2 separate regions of the Homo sapiens genome follow, and region 2 is linked to region 1. Evidence: promoter capture Hi-C in 16 types of primary human blood cells and fetal thymus (Javierre and others, 2016). All regions are on one chromosome and are shown on one strand. Each heading gives the region's core, a stretch centred on a gene start or on the middle of the fragment in contact. The rest is flanking DNA. Distances are from core to core; before and after follow the strand shown.

What was found. Contacts are between HindIII fragments. The CHiCAGO score rates a contact against its expected background, and 5 or more counts as called.
Region 2: a fragment that was not itself captured here is called in contact with the fragment with the promoter of CNGB1 in region 1 in 2 of 17 cell types (endothelial precursors and erythroblasts); the score reaches 6.0 in endothelial precursors.

The regions. Positions count from the first base shown.
Region 1 is chr16:57,968,025-57,973,569 of GRCh38, reverse strand. CNGB1 (cyclic nucleotide gated channel subunit beta 1) reads left to right here and starts at 2,442. Exons shown (of 33, transcript NM_001297.5): 1 at 2,442-2,510. The HindIII fragment of the contact is 12,254 bases long and covers 1-5,545 here.
Region 2 is chr16:57,845,830-57,851,374 of GRCh38, reverse strand. It overlaps a transcript of KIFC3 not described here. Among named protein-coding and RNA genes, the nearest start is that of KIFC3, 46 kb to the right of the region's middle. RefSeq lists enhancers at 3,847-4,728, 4,729-5,545. The HindIII fragment of the contact is 203 bases long and covers 2,257-2,459 here.

The DNA.
Region 1 (5,545 bases), core at 1,193-3,692:
CAGGTGCCACCTCTGGTCATCTTTGTTTCCTTGGGTTTCCGAGGTGATATCAGTCAGTCCTGTGGCTTTAAGCATCATCTGCAAGCTGAGGCCTCCAAAATTTCTATCTCCTGTAGACCTCTCCCTAAGTCTCACACACACACACACACACACACACACACACACACACATTTCAACCTGGATGTCTCTCAGACTTTTTTTTTTTTTTGCTTAGGCTGGAGTGCAGTGGTGTGATCTTGGCTCACTGCAACATCCACCCACCGGGTTCAGGCAATTCTCCTGCCTCAGCCTCCAGAGCAGCTGGGATTATAGGCACCTGCCACCACACCCGACTAATTTTTGTATTTTTAGTAGAGACGGAGTTTTGCCATGTTGGCCAGGCTGGTCTTGAACTCCTGACCTCAGGTGATCCACCTGCTTTGGCCTCCCAAAGTGCTAGGATTACAGGCGTGAGCCACTGCACCCAGCCTCTCTCAGACATCTTAACAAAGTAGTGCTCATGATTTTCCCTCCAAAATTCTTCCTCCAAACTTCCAGCCTCAGGCTTCTTCTTTTCAGTACATGTGTAAACCAGCCTGGGGCGGTTTACTGGTTCACCCACTAAACCAGCTACCCAGTTTCCCAGGGTGAGCCCCTCAATGCCCGCCTTTTTCCTCCCCTTTCCCTTCTATCTGTACTCCCACCAGCATAGTCCAAGCCCCATCATCCCTCCCGTCAGGCTGCAGGCAAGGGCGAATGTCACCTGTGTTAGTCTCAGGCCCAAGCAGAGCAGAAGGGCTTGCTGCTGTTCCTTGGGGAGGAGCTCTGACCCCTGCAGCCTGGCATATTTGTAGGGAAGGGTCAGGGAGTACATTGAGCTTTACCGTTGGGGTCTGGCCTTGCTGGCAGAAAGAACTTTCTTGTGAATCACTTGCCATGTAGAGGTTGCATTATCAGAGGTCTTGAAGCCCAACACTGGAGGGGAAGCCAGGGGTCATCCAGTCACCAATCAGCTTGTCCCTCCGCAGCCTCCTGACCAGTTTCCTGTTTCCATGCTTGCCTGCTACACAGAGCCACACAGATCATGCCCAGCCCCTGTTCAAAACCATCATCTAAAACTACACTCCTTCCTGTGGCTTACAGTCTCACAACATCTGCCCCTGCCCTCTGTCAACCTCATCTCCCACCACTCTCCCCTGCACCCGTTAAGCTCCAGGCTCCCCGGTTCCCATTCTGCTCCTCAAGGCTCATTCCAGCCTCAGAACCTTTCTCGTTGCAGTGTCCTTGGCCTGGAGCACCACTCACCCAGCTTTTTTCACAGCTGAGTCTTTCTTACTTTTCATGTCTCAGTTCAAATATACATCCACCTCGTCATAGGGGCCTGCCTACCTGCCCCTACTGCCCTCCACAACATGCTTCTGCCCTGTTTGTTTCTTTTATGGCACTTAGCATAATTTGCAATATTCTTTATTTGTCAGTAATCTCCTCCATTGGAATGTAAGCTCCATGAGGACAGGGCCTATGTCTGTCTTGCTCAGTGTGCCAAGGCTGGCACACTGCCAGGCACAAAGGAAGAGCTCTAGGCCAGGTGCAGGGGCTTACATCTGTAATCCCAATACTATGAGAGGCTGAGGCAGGAGGATTGCTTGCATCCAGGAGTTTGAGAGGTTGAGGCTGCAATGAGCTGTGATTGCACCACTTCACTTAGCCTGAGTGACAGAGAGAGACTGTGGCTTAAAAAAAAAAAAAAAAAAAGGAAAGGAAAGGAAAGGAAGAACTCTAGAAATGGTGCGGATAATTAAGTCAAGTCCTGCCCTTTGCCAAATATCCCTCAGGGCCACCACACTGAGCCCCTCTTCCTTGGGCCCTGTCCCTTGCACCCTCTCCTCCTAGATCTCTGTATCCCTTCAAGTGTCCAGCCTCAGTTCACAGGGCAGGTCAGATGCCTCAGTCATCTGCCGGGTCTTGGATCCATCCTCAAGGCCCAGGCCTGGGACACAGCCTTTCTGGCAGAGCCCAAGGCAGGGCTGCTGAGACCCTGCCCAGAGAAGACTCTAAGCCAGAAAGAACCTGCCTGCGTCCTGGCCTGGGGGCTGGAGAGTTGGGGTACACCTCTTGCCACCGCTGAGTGGGAGCTGACAAGCCCCTGCTACCATGAGGAGTCTCCAGGCATCACATGGGAACTCCAAGCTGTTATTCTCCCATCAGCCACTCCGTGTCTTGGCCAAGGTGTATGGGAAGCCAGGCCCCTGGTAAGCCGGGCAGGTCCCCTGGCAACCCATGGTGCTCCAAACCTGGGCCATGCAGGAGCCCTTCCCTGGGGCCCACATCCTTGCTGGACCCTGGGAGTTGGGAGGTGCTGCTGGTTTCCTGGGCATCAACAGCCTCTTTTCTCCCCCTCCCCCATTCAGCACCTGCTAATCCTTTGCACACGGCCCAGCTACTGCCAATTAATCTTCCTTGTGTCTGAGGGGCCAGCTACGAGTGGCAGCAAGAAGGCAATTCCTGGCTGGCGGTTGGCATCTAAGCAGGTAACTCAGGGTGAGGTGGAGGCTCGGTGGGACCCCGAGGGGATCCCCATGTTCTCCCTCTAGAAAGGCATTTAGGTAGGACCAAACTGGCACGGTGGGAAACCTGTGGCTTCCCTCTATCTGGTGGAGCTTGGACTTTAGCGGGCATCAGAATTTTCAGGACAGCTTGTACAATGCAAATTCCTAGGTCCCCCAGGAGGACTTGGGGGACCTAGGAATCTATATTTTCACTAGCTCTCCAGAAGACTCTGGAAATGCTGGTGGTGCAACACCATGGCTCCCCGAGCTGCCACTCGTGGGTCCCCCTTCCCACCTGAGCCTCCCTCATCAAAGTGCAGTCAGCAGGGACACGGGTGAAAGATGGGAGGGACCTGCAAAAATTCTCATTTAGGAGGAAAAAGAAAAATGGGGGATCGGGGAGGCTTCCTTAGTCATTTCCAGAAGGTTTAGAAATGCAAGCGAGAATTGCTGCCTGCTGGGAAGGGTCTACAGGCCTGGCCCGCGGAAGAGGCCAACACTCGGCAAATGCCACGACTACCTGGGAATACATGTGGGGCAGCTGGAATCGGGCAGACCTGAGTGTAAACTCAAGTTGGCCACTGCCGGCTGTGCTGCTTCAGGCGATTCTGTTGACCTTTCTGTGCTACATAATGAAAATTCTTATTTTACTGAGTGCAGGGGCTGGGCGGGGCGTGGTGGTGAGAGCGAGGATGAGTATGATCATGGGTAGAATGCACTTAGCTCAGCCCTGGCTCTCGGGGCTGCCTGGGGCTGGCTGGGGTCAGTGAAATCTGCTATCCCAACATGTGAGCTCTGGCAGTCCCGACCTGGGAAAACATTGTGTCTGTGCCCCCACCTTCAGGGAAATGGAAGACCAGAGGGGTCATGTCTGGCCCAAGTTCATTTTTTGGGAGGCTGAGCCAGGGATCTGACACTTAGAGCTGTGTTCCCACCACAGCCTCTCGTGGGAGAGGCTGGGCTGCTGATGCCAGAGTGGGAACAGAGGTCAGGGCTGTAAGTAGAGGACAGGCAGCACAGCCGTGGGCTCTGGGGAGCTGGGCTTGGGGGCAAGGATCCTGGGCCTGGGCTGCCCTCTTCAGCTGGGGCCAGGGTCCCTGGCAGAAAGGGGCATACAGACTCTCTGCCAAAGCCCGGGTTGCCCATGGCTGGGAGAGGGGTGGGGCACACTCATGTGGGGCAAGAACACATCTAGGGCTAGGAGTTAGCACACACTGACCTGCACGCTGCGCACTGGCCAGGCCATCCTGCAGGGGTTCAGTCATAAGGGCTGGGGCTCCCCATTCCCCAAGGAGAAATCAACCAGAAACAACCTGTACTTAAGGTAGGACTGAAATAACACAGTATATCATGAAAAAAGTCTTACCTGGCATTTTATCTTTTTCTTTCTTTCTTTTTTTAAAATATAGCACTATAAGCATTTTATTTCAGTTTTGAGACAGGGTCTTACTCTGTCGACCAGGCTGGAGTGCAATGGCTGAGTGCAATCTCCACCTTTTGGGCTCCAGTGATTCTCGTGCCTCAGCCTCCCGAGTAACTGGTACTACAGGCACGTGCCACCACGCTGGGCTAATTTTTTGTATTTTTGGTAGAGACAGGGTTTCATCATGTTGCCCAGGCTGGTCTCGAACTCCTGAGCTCAAGCGATCTGCCTGCCTCAGCCTCCTGAAGTGCTGGGATTGCAGGTGTGAGCCACACCATGCCCAGCCTTTTTGTTTGTCTGTTTGTTTTTGAGAAGGAGTCTTGCTCTGTCACCCAGGCAGGCTGGAGTGCAGTGGCACGATCTCGGCTCACTGCAACCTCTGCCTCCCGGGTTCAAGTGATTCTCCCACCTCAGCCTCCGGAGTAGCTGGGATTACAAGTGCACACCACCACACCCAGCTAATTTTTGTATTTTTAGTGGAGATGGGGTTTCACCATGTTGGCTAGGCTGATCTCGAACTCCTGACCTCTGGTGATCTGCCTGCCTTCACCTCCCAAAGTGCTGGGATTACAGGCGTGAGCTACCACAACAGGCCCATTTTTTTTTCTTTTTTTGAGACAGGATCTTGCTTTGTTACCCAGGCAGAAGTGCAGTGGCATGATCACTGAAGCCTCGACCCCTTGCCTCAGCCTCCTGAGTAGCTGGGACTACAGGTGCACACCACCATAACAGGCTTTTTTTTTTTTTTTTTTTAAATAGAGACAGGGTCTTGATATGTTGCCCACAGTGGTCTCGAACTCCTGAGCTCAAGTGATCCTCCCATCTTGGCCTCCCAAAGTGCTGGGATCACAGGCATGAGCCTCTGCACCCAGCCCATTTTATCTTAAAAATTAAAAAATGATGAACATAGGTTAAGTTTATCTTAAGACAGATTTTCCACTCATGTAATTACTCATAATGAATATTTTTACTTATAATGAGATTATGTAGTACATGCATATTACACAATTAGTGTTTTCATTTGATACCATGTAATAGTCATAGTCAACATTTATTAAGCCCTCGGCATGTGCCAGTCACTGTTCTGAGTATGTTACATTTATTATTATTATTATTATTTTTGAGACAGGATCTCACTCTGTCACCCAGGCTGGAGTGCAGTGGCACGATCTTGGTTCACTGCAACCTCTACCTCCTGGGTTCAAGAGATTCTCATGCCTCAGCCTCCTGAGTAGCTGGGATTACAGGTGCCTGCAACCATGCCCAGCTAATTTTTGTATTTTTAGTAGACAAGGGGCTTCCCCATGTTGCCAGGCTGCTCTGGATCTCCTGACCACAAGTGATCCACCCACCTCAGCCTCCCAAAGTGCTGGGATTATAGGTGTGAGCCACTGCCCTTGGCCTGAGTATGTTACACTTATCAATTCATTTTATCCTCACAATTAGCCCATGAGGTAGGTACTATTAATATCCCCATTTTACAGACAAGCAAACTGAGGCACAGAGACATTAACTGATCTGCTCATGACTTGACTTCAGAGCAGGCACATCTTCTTGCTAGCTCAATTAGACTGCTTCTTTCTTTTTAATGCCC
Region 2 (5,545 bases), core at 1,109-3,608, 120 kb after region 1:
AGATGAAGTTGAGGAAATTTTCCAGGAACTAGAACAAACAGAGAGAGATGAAAAATAATAGGCCATGCATGGTGGCTCACACTGGTCATCCTAACACTTTGGAAGGCCAAGGCAGGAGGATCACTTGAGACCAGGAGTTTGAGACCAGCCTGGGCAACATAATGAGACCCCCGTCTCTACAAAACATTAAAAAAACATTAGCCGGGTGTGGTGACACACTCCTGTAATCCTGGCTACTCAGGAGGCTGAGGTGGGAGGATGCCTGGAGCCTAGGAGCTTGAGGCTGCAGTGAGCGGTGATCACACAACTACACTCCAGTCTGGGCAACAAAGCAAGATCGTGTCAAGAAAAGGAAGGAAGGAAAGGAGGGAGGGAGGGAAGGAAGGAAGGAAGGAAGGAAGGAAGGAAGGAAGGAAGGAAGGAAGGAGGGAGGGAAGGAAAGAAGTTGAAATCAAATCAGCAATTTCAAAGAATTCCAGAGAGAACAAAGAAAGGGCAGAGAATATCAATGAAATAACACAGGAAAACTTCCCACAGCTGAAGCACTGGAAGGGCCTGCGGAGAACTCCGTACAATGTATGAAAAAGACCCATTTTTGTGGCTGGGCACAGCGGCTCACTCCTGTAATACTAGCACTTTGGGAGGCCGAGGCGGGTGGGTCACCTGAGGTCGGGAGTTCGAGACCAGCCTGGCCAACATGGCAAGACCCCATCTGTACTAAAAATACAAAAATTAGCCGGGCATGGTGGCAGGCGCCTGTAATCCCAGCTATTTGGGAGGCTGAGGCAGGAGAATCGCTTGAACCTGGTGGATGGAGGTTTTAGTGAGCTGAGATAGGGCCACTTCATTCCAGCCTGGGCAAAAGAGTGAGTGAGACTCCATCTCAAAAAAAAAAAAAAAAAAAAAAAACCCTTTTTAAAATTTATTTTTATTTATTATTATTATTATTGTATTATATTATTTTGTTTGTGTGTGACAGGGTCTCACTCTCTCCCCCAGGCTGGAGTCCAGTGGCTCAATCATGGCTCACTGCAGCCTCAAATTCCTGGGCTCAAGCAATCCTCCTGTCTCAGCCTCCTGAATAGCTGGGACTACAGGTGCATGCCACCATGCCCGGCTAATTTTTCAATTTTTTGTAGAGACAGGGTCTCGCTATGTTGCCCAGGCTGGTGGTCTGGAACTTCTGGGCTCAAGCAATTCTCCCGCCTCAGTCTCTCAAGGTGTTAAGATTATAGGCATGAGCCACCACACCTGGCTTTTATTATTACTATTTATTTTTTAGAGAAAGGGTCTTGCTCTGTCACCCAGGCTGAAGTGTAATGGCACGATTATAGCTCACTACAGCCTCAAACTCCTGGCCTCAAGTGATTCCCCTACTTTTCGAGGCTGATTCCCCTCAAGCCTCCCAAATTACTAGGATTACAGGTGGAAGCCTCTGCACCCGGCCCATTAACTATTTTTTGTTGTTGTTGAGATGGAGTTTTGCTCTTGTTGCCCAGGCTGGAGTGCAGTGGCATGATCTCGGCTCACTGCAACCTCCACATTCCAGGTGCAAGTGATTCTCCTGCCTCAGCCTCCCAAGTAGCTGGGATTACAGGCACACACCACCACACCCGGCTAATTTTTGTATTTTTAGTAGAGATGGGGTTTTATCATGCTGGCCAGGCTGGTCTTGAACTCCAGACCTCAGATGATCTGCCTGCCTCGGCCTCCCAAAGTGCTGGAATTACAGGCATCAGCCACCACACCTGGCCCCATTAACTATTTTCTAAACACCTCTACCCCTATCTTCTAGAGGCAGTGAGTTTACGTTCTCCTTCCCTTCATAAGACAAAGGGCACCAACTCTGTAGTTTAAAAGACTATATTGACTTTCAGATTTTTAGAGAAGTGCCACTATGAACCCACAGAGCACTTAATAAGGGTTTTAAAATAATTAAATCAGTAATAACAAAGTAAAGGCCGTCACAGATACACACACACAGCAGTTTGTCTCAATCGATCTGATGTGTGTTAAGTTTGCATTGTCATTATCTACAAGGTAATTTATCTCCATTAAACTGGTCTGTAGGGGATACATTGATGAATGAAATCTGGGTTTCATTGCTTTGTTTATTTACAACGTACCCTTTCTACTGAGATCACCAATTATCAAGAAACTGTGATGGTAGTTGCCTTAAATTGGTTAACTGGGTTTCTGTCCCCAAAAAGGCTTAAATTTAGACGAGTAGAGCCACAGATATAAACCTCTAAAGCTTATTACTAACTCCTCTGTTAATCTCTGTACTGTCTGATCACTCAGCTACTATTGTTCTCTGCTTATGGAAAAGCACAGAAAAAGTGTGGTACTTACCATGACATCTACAGGAAGAACAGTTTTAGGATTCTAGGATTAGTGTTTAAGTGGAACCGGGGAAGAGAGAAGAAATTAAATCATCATAGAAATGTTCTCATAAAGCTTAATTTTATGTGAATATTTTTCACCTTGAAAACAAAGTTTAAGGTCACAGTTGCCAGAGAATCTAAATTCCTTATTTTTATGTATTTATTTAGAGAAAACCTCTAGTTTTTTGTTATGGCTGCCTGAAGGTGGCACATGCATTAAGTCCTAAGACATGCTAAATCTTTTTGTTAAAAACCCTGTGTAGCCATTCTTAGGGCTTCCTTTTAGCAAGAGAGACATTTTAGCAGTCTGCACACAGAATCGGAGATTAGCTTCATATGGGCGTCTTTTAATTTTAATTTTTTGAGACAGGTCTTATTCTGTCTATCAGGCTGGAGTGGCAGTGGCTCAGTCACAGCTCACTGCAGCCTCAAATTCATGGGCTCAAGGGATCCTCTGGATTCAGCCTTCCCAATAGCTAGGACTACAGGCATGCACCACAACGCCCAGCTAATTTTTAGAATTTTTTGTAGAGATGGGATCTGGCTATGCTGTGCAGGCTGGTCTGGAACTCCTGACCTCAAGCAATCCTCCTGCCTCGGCCTCCCAAAGTTCTGGGATGAGCCACCACACGGGGCCTCCATGCTGGCATCTCAATGCTGGTCCTGAATTTCGGCTTTCTGTGTGGTCCTTCTTAAGCCAGTTAAACCACTCTCTGTTTGCTTGATCATAAAAACAAATGAATGTTCATCTGAACAAAACGAGCTTATAGCTTTAATAGAATCTCCAAAATGTATGGCAACTTCAAGGCATTAGACAGAAAATAACAACAATAAAACTTTGGCTTCTTTACAAAGTATTTAAAAGTATTTAAAAATTGTTTTGCAAATAACTCTTCTGGCATCCAGGCCAAGCATGGTGGCCCACGCCTGTAATGCCAGTACTTTAGAAGGCTGCGGCAGGTGGATCACTTGAGGTCAGGATTTCAAGACACACCTGGCCAACATGGTGAAACCCCATCTCTATCAAAAATACAAAAATTAGCCAGATGTGGTGGGGTGCGCCTGTGTCCCCAGCTACTTGGGAGGCTGAGGCACAAGAATTGCTTGAATCTCGGAGGCAGAGGTTGCAGCGAGCTGAGATTGTGCCACTGCATTCCAGCCTGGGCAACAGAGTGAGACTCGGTCTCACACACACACACACACACACACACACACACACACACACACACAAATTCATCTGGCATCTGGACTTAATCTAAAAATATATTCTTGAACAATAAGGCCAAAGGGAAAGAAAAGTCTCAATGTTCTCTTACGCATTTATATCATCTGCAAATCTCTTTCAGGACTCCCCTCCCCTGCTTATAACAGAAAATTGGGCAGCCCTGTGTGTTTGTGTCAATTCCACAAATTGACAGAATCAATTTGTGGAATCTCTAATCTTTTTCTATCCATGGAACACTCCTAACACCAAATGTGTGTTGTTTCTTCCCCACACCAATAAATTCTCTGTGACACCAGCTGCATGTCCTACAATTTTTTCAAAATTACTTTTTATTGTTTATAGACACAGGATTTTTACTGTGTTGCCCAGGCTGGTCTCGAACTCCTGGGCTCAAGCAAGCCTTCCACCTCAGCCTCCCAAAGTGCTGGGATTACAGGTGTGAGCCACCTCTCCCTCCCTCCCTCCCTCCCCGCCCTCTCTCCCTCCCTCCCTTCCCTTCCTTCCTTCCTTCCTTCCTTCCTTCCTTCCTTCCTTCCTTCCTTCCTTCCTTCCTTCCTTCCTTCCTTCCTTCCCTCCTTCCTTCACAGATTCATTGCTCTGTCACCTCAGGCTGGAATGCAGTGGTGCCATCTGGCTCACTGTAACCCCCGCCTCCCGTGTTCAAGAGATTCTCATGCCTCAGCCCCCAGAGTAGCTGAGATTACAGGTGTTCGCCAGCACACGTGGCTAATTTTTGCATTTTTAGTAGAGATGGGGTTTCACCTTGTTGGCTAGGCTGGTCTCGAAATCCTGGCCTCAAGTGGTCTGCCCACCTTGGCCTCCTGAAGTGTTGGGATTACAGGCTTGGGCCACTGCACCAGGCCTAAATATATTTCTTATGCCACAGAATCACAAAGGAAAACACACTTCTTTTTATAGGTCATTTCTTTGTTTTGCTCATAAAGACTTATCCCAGGTCACAGTCAAGCTCATGAAATTCATATAAGTAGAAGGTTTCTCAAAACCCAATACGTGAGTGTTTGTTTGGGAAAGAAATTGTACCTATCAGAATGAAACGAAAGTGGATCGGTTGTACAGCCTTGAACCAGCTGCAGGGGTGACACTTCTAATCTGCTTTTCTCATTCTCGTTAACAACCAGATGGAGTGGGGGAGAAAGGAGGGAGGATGGGCTGTCTGCGAGCAGCTTCCTTAAAGGGTTTGACATGAGAATTTGCACCTGCTGGGCTGAACAGCGCCTTCCAGGCATCTCCGCCCAGGTGGCTGGGTTTCCCAGCAGAACATCGCATTCCAGTGTCTGCCGCAAGCCCTCTTCTGTTAGGTCACCCTCCACCATCCGCCTTCTTCAGCCATCAGGATTCTCATTTAGAAAGACTGCAAAGCCCTGTGTCCAGGTTGGAGGCAGCCGGGAGGCCACAGGTAGGGAAAAGATGTGTATCTCATGGCTTTGTCTGCTTCTCCCGGCCTGGCTTTAGGTCTGGAACCAGGAGCCCCATAGTGCTCTCTGGGCAGCAAAGGACCCAGGGGTGTGGTCCTCTACTGCCCAGCCCCACCCAGGGAGAGGGGTGGAGTTCTCCCTCCACCAGGCCATCACCAGCCCCTGGAGGTCCAGCCTCTTCCTGCTCTGGTGGGGAGGGAGTGGGCACAGGCTTATAAGTGTCTTGGCATGAAAGGGTTGGGTCTCCAGGCCCCTCACCTTGTCTACTCTTCCCTCATCTCATCTCCTGAGGGGCAGGGAAGTCAAATGCATTTCCTCTGTTCTCTTTCTCAGCTTTGTTTTGACAAAAACCCCACAGCTCTGGGGCAGCCCCTTCCTTTCACAAATCTTAAAGAACCCTCTGTAAGTTTAAACTCTACCAGTGCCCAGGAGACACTGGCAAACAATGTAGAAAAAGATCTTCACCTCTCAGAGGTGACTCTCCCTCACAGAGGAAAACA